Linked DNA regions of Homo sapiens: region 2 is linked to region 1. The links are contacts of gene promoters, found by promoter capture Hi-C in human tissues and cell types (Jung and others, 2019). All regions are on one chromosome and are shown on one strand. The core of a region is centred on a gene start or on the middle of the fragment in contact, and the rest is flanking DNA. Distances in the headings are between cores, read along the strand shown.

What was found. The method cuts DNA at HindIII sites, captures the fragments that hold promoters and counts their contacts. A contact is called where the count stands out against the background at its distance.
Region 2: a contact is called between a fragment that was not itself captured here and the fragment with the promoter of C8orf17 in region 1, in 2 of the 25 tissues and cell types used here (H1 embryonic stem cells and pancreas).

Annotation. Positions count from the first base shown.
Region 1 is chr8:139,929,919-139,932,735 of GRCh38, reverse strand. It overlaps C8orf17 (chromosome 8 putative open reading frame 17), which reads right to left and starts at 1,316. Exons shown (of 1, transcript NR_172942.1): 1 at 1-1,316. All of the region lies in intron 19 of TRAPPC9 (trafficking protein particle complex subunit 9), which reads left to right. The HindIII fragment of the contact is 16,447 bases long and covers 1-2,817 here.
Region 2 is chr8:139,984,457-139,987,237 of GRCh38, reverse strand. All of the region lies in intron 19 of TRAPPC9 (trafficking protein particle complex subunit 9), which reads left to right. Among named protein-coding and RNA genes, the nearest start is that of C8orf17, 54 kb to the right of the region's middle. The HindIII fragment of the contact is 4,998 bases long and covers 1-2,781 here.

The sequences.
Region 1 (2,817 bases), core at 67-2,566:
CTGCAGTGCAGAGGTACCATCTCGGCTCACTGCAACCTCCACCTCTGGGGTTCAGGCAATTCTCGTGCCTCAGCCTCCCACGTAGCTGGGACTACAGGCATGTGCCAACACACCTGGCTAATTTTTTTTGTAAATTAGTAGAGACGGGTTTCACCATGTTGTCCAGGCTGGTCTCGAACTCCTGAGCTCAGGCAATCCACCTGCCTCGGCCTTCCAAAGTGCTGGGATTACAGGCGTGAGCCACCGCGCCCAGTGTCTACATGACATTTCTACCCCAGGAGTCAGGTCAGCCAACATCTTGTACTTATGACGGGAGAAAGAAAGGGAGCCATACCACGTGGTGGTCCAGCGTGCTTCTGATCCAGTGTGGCATATGTCACTCTGCTCAGGTCCCGTGGCCAAGGACCTGTGGCCAAGCCTGACATCCACGAGGTGGGGACATTCTCCCATGGTGGCTACCCTGAGCGAGGCCCCGTGGTGCGGGACTCCCTCGGCTGCACGGCGAAGTGGCTCTGTGGGCTGCCTGCGGGGCCTGCCTGGCTGGTTTCTCCTTGTTCCTCCCTGTAAGGTCAATGCTTCTGAGCACCAAAGCCCTGCCTTTGGGCCAGCACCCCGCCCTCAGCCGCACATCAACACCTCTGCGGCCTCTTCTATCTCCTTTTGAATTGTATTATTGCTCTTAGGTGCTCTTGTAATGCTGGACAAATTCTCTGTGAATAAGGGAAAAAATTGAAGCATAAATCATCCGGAGAGTAGCATTTTCTAATTTGGATGTGTGGCAAAACAACTCTGGGTGATTTTTATTCTTTATTTTCAACACAGAATTTCTCTGACAGGCCATCGTCAGCTGCTATAGAGCAATAAATCAGAGTCATCTTTTCCGGGTGAAATGGGCTTAATTTCTCATCCTTTTGTTCGTGTTTCCCTTCCTCTTCTACCGCATGGCACTTGTAATCCTAATGATGCTGTGATGAGATATGATGGTCAGAGCCTCAGACTTATCAGGATGGGCTGACAAATCGTGGAGATCCGCACTGGTCCCACACCCGCCTCTGCTCAGGCGGGCAGGATGTAGATCTGCAGACTGGACCAGCTCAAGTTGATAGCCCCGTAGCATGCAGAGAAAGGAGCACTTTCCAGACCGCGGGGCCCAGAGGCTCAGGTCCAAAGCTTTGTGTGACCTCTGGGCTTGGCTTTTTGTACAATGAGAGCTTTGGACTAGGTGGTCTTCAAGGTCAACTGTAAAATCCTTGACACCACAGACAGGGTTCCAGTGGGCACCTGCCTTAAGGTGCGTGCCAGCCTCTGTGGAAGAGTGTTCATCCTTCTTTCTAGGGCTGTGGTTGTGGGTGATTGCACTAGGAAAGACTTGCAGAAACTGTCATTGTGGATATTTGCCACGTCATTAACCTCAGTCTCCTCCTCTGTGAGATGGGGATGTCAGGATCCAGCTCCTATGGTTGCGGTGAGGATTACGTGTATGCTCGGCTCTACTGCAGCTGGTGTTCAGTGAGTGGCAGTTGTCTATGGTTAATATTCTCATTTTTCAGATTAGAAAACTGAGCCTCATGAGGTCGAAGTGTTTCCCGAGGATCTCACAGCTTGCGGTTATAGAGGTGGGGTTAGAATCATCTAGAAGCTCTTTTCCTCACCCCTTTGGGGCAGTTTGGGAGGTGGGAGGACAAGAGCCAGGGCCTCGGGGTTGCTTCCTGGACAGACAGGGAACAGGCTCCATGACCTGAGGGCTGATTCCAGCAGGGTGGGCACCCTGCATGTGCCTTTTTCCATACCTATGAAAGGGGGCACCACCGAGTGCAGAGTCAATGAGCTAATGCAGGTGTCCAGCGTACACTGAGCACTCAACAGTGTTGCTGTCGTCGTGATTTCATCCTCATAACCCTTGGGTGGCCCCGTTTTCGCCTCCTTCCCTGTTTTGAGCGTCTCCTCAGAGGGTCTCATCTATGAGACAGCGGTGGAATGAGGCTGGGTTTCTAAGGGAGCTCCAGCTCTGGAAGGCCGGTTACTAGGATTGGTTGAAAACGAAATCTCATTGCAAAATAAGTTCCCTCCTCCATGGGGCTAAACACGGGGGATGCTCCTTATTGTATTTGACGGGTCTAGAAGGATCAAGATGGCCTTTGAATATTAATCTGTCACTGGTACCATTTTGTCTGTTTGATGTCTAGGATGGAAAAAAGAGGGGTGTGACTATCTCCTGTCTGATGCGAGCATTGCTGCTTGGAAAGCAGAACAGAAGTCCCTTTCCAAGGCTTGGCTCTAGTCATCGACCCCCTTGTTTTCCCTGTGATCCTGAGCCACCCACCTGCCCTACCGACACCACGGGAGAAGTTGACTGGCGAGAACCGTGTTGTGTGAGCGCGCTGGCCTTGCCACTGCTCACCTTGGCTGTATCTTGTTCACGTTACACATCAACTCCCGGCTGGCGCAGCCCCACTGCCCCACACTATAAGCCTTCCCATCTCAGGAGTTGGGATGGAGGGGTAAACATGCATTAAGATAGTGCGTAGAAGGCTTAAGGGTCTCAGCTCTTCCTGAGTGTCACCCCCTTGGCTGTCACCTCTTAGGCATCTGGGAGGTCCCAGAAATAAGAGAAGTGAAGTTATGCTTGTTCAGCCCCTAGCATATGCCATTCACGATGCTCAATGTTTTCTTTAAATTACCTGTTCATAACAGAGAAGTGTAGAGAATCGGCAGAATCCACGCACAGTGCCAAACACGTATATTGATGGCCTTCTGTGTGTCAGGTGCTGCTCCTGAGGACTGCACCTACAAGGTGGTGCTTGCTCCATTTTACAG
Region 2 (2,781 bases), core at 32-2,531, 55 kb before region 1:
ACATATGGTCACAAGAAGACCTATACAACGTTCTAGCCAGAAAATAGAGGCCAGGTGTCCATTACAGGAGAACGGACAAACAAATGGCGGTGTTTTCTTACAAACGGAATGGTGTGGTACTCTGCAACAAAAACGAATGAATTACTCATACACAGAACAGCACTTGCAACTCTCAGGAACAGGATGCTGGGTGAAAGGAGCCTTACCCAAAGTGCATATGCCATGTGGTTCCATTGATACGAAATGCTGTAGGTTGCTGCAAAAGTAATTGCGGCTTTTGCCATTACTTTTACACCAACCTATAGAACAAGCAGAACCAATTTACGATGGAAAAACTCAGAACATTGGTTCCTTCTGGAGAGATTGGAACAGGGTTTGATCAGGAAAGGGCATAAGGTAATTTTCTAGGTGATGGTCATGTTGTATACATCAGTAGGGTTTTGGGTTACACACATGTATCTATTCGTCAAAACTCGGCAACTAATCACTTGAGATTTGTACATTTCATGATGTATCAGCTTTATAGCAGAAGGAAAAACTAAGCCAGTGTTGAGCTCTGTTAATGATATGCACACTGGAGGGTTTGGGGTCGGGGCATGATAGCTACAATAGTCTTTGAGTTCTATAAAATATCTGACAGATTAATAGATGGGCAGATGAACACATTAGGTGGTAATGCAAATATAGTATAATGTTAACAGTAGCGTCTCTTAATGGGCATATGGGGGGTGTTCAGTGTAAATCTTTTTCACCTTATATTTGAAATTTTTTAGAAGAAATTGTTGGCAAAAATAAAAGTAAAAATAGCTAAGCTCTTCTTTTCTGCCCACCTCATCCCATCTTCTTTTCTCTTTCCTTCCTCTTTAAGGTAATTTCTTTCTTAGAGGTGATGGTATCATTCCACATCCATGTTTTACTACTTTATTGTATAGACATATATCCCCACCCAAACATTATTTTGACAGTTTTTTTGTTTTTTGGTTTTTTGTTTTTTTGATACAGAATCTCGCTCTGTCACCCAGGCTGGAGTGCAGTGGCACAGTCCTGGCTCACTGCAACCTCCACCTCCTGGGTTCAAGCGTTTCTCCTGCCTCAGCCTCCTGAGTAGCCAGGATTACAGACACCTGCCACCACGCCCGGCTAATTTTTGTATTTTTAGTAGAGATGGGATTTCACCATGTTGGTCAGGCTGGTCTTGGACTCCTGACCTTGTGATCCGCCCGCCTCGGCCTCCCAAAGTGCTGGAATTACAGGCAAGAGCCACTAGGCCTGGCCGAGAGTCTTTTTTTCAATGGCATAAGTGGTTCCATATCATATATGTCCTTTTAAAACTTTAAAAATCAGCGTTATTCTTTGGAGCTAAATATAAATCTGGTTCTTTCATTTGAACTGCTATTAATATTTCATTGTGTAAATATGCCACTTTATTCATTTCCATGCTAATGCACTCACTGTGAGGTGGCTTCCAGGGTATTCATATTTAATGTGATTATTGTTAATGACACGCATGAATGTCAAGCCAGGCCCTGCAGCCTTGTAGCAGGTCCTGTTTGGGCTGCTGGAAGCTAGAGATTCAATGGCTTGGGGGACATTTATGGCCTGCCTTTGAGAGGTGCCAGAAAATCCTCCTTCCCAAGATCCCTTGGAAAGGACTTGTCACTTGGGTGTGGGTATGCGCGTGGGGCTGGTGTATGCTTCTGTGTGTATGAGCCGTGAGGGCTGTGGCTGGATGCTGCGGCACCTCAGGTTCCTCAGGATGAGGACAGGTGCCTTCAGGGAGCATCGATGCATCCTCTGGGGTCTACGCCTTTGGCAGTGCTGGGTCCAGTGCTGCTGCATAGGGAACTGTCAGCCCTCGGACTGCTCTTTCTTATCTAAATAACTTGATGTAGTCCAAGATCCCAGAGAACATAAATCTGGTCGTCTTATGACACTAGTATAAAACACTTTAAAGAAATTATAAATTGCTAAGCTTGTCCTGTATAGTAAGCTTGACTCATTCTTGGCAATGTGAGGCTGATGACATTAACAATCCCAGCTGCAAATAATCACAATTTAGTCTTGTGCTTCAGGCTTTTTTGTTATTAAGTTTTTGCTTAAATTCTCATTTCTGAATGCTTCTAACTCGAATATTCTTTTATTTATTCATAAAATATTCATTCAATAAATATTGATACTTCAGCAATTTGCTGTGTGGTAAGCCCCGTGTCAGGCTTCAGGCGTGCTGAGAAGAATAAATAAGGGCCCCTCCTCGCTGGGGATTGGCAACACATTGGGACAAGTGTCTAACCCAGCCAGAGCGGCTGCCCTTTTCTGCCTGACAAGGGCATCTTGCTGTCCCGGGCCGGGTGGGAGCGTTGGGTGAACTAGAGGTCATGAGGTTACGTCCATCTGGGAAGTCATCTTAGGCGCTTCCCCTGCTGTGCCCACTGCTGGGGATACCCATGAATCCATGCAACTCTGCCCTGAGCCCTAGAATGCATGATTCCCCTCCCCTCCCTTTCCCAAACCTCTCTCAGTGCCTCACCGGCCTCCTGTGGGTCAGATGCACACTCGGCCTCCGTGGAGGGGTTGTGCAGAGCAGTGCAGGTGGAGGAAGTGGAAATGGCTCTACCTTACTTCGCAACGCCGGACAGCACCTTACAGACCTCAGACCTGGTCCCTGTCCTTCCAGGCTTTGTGTCTTGAGTATCCAGTTCCTTCCCAGAGTCCTGAGCCGAACCTCTCTCCTGGCTCTCCCGTTCCCCTACGAGGAGGCACCCCTGCCACCACCCCCCGGCC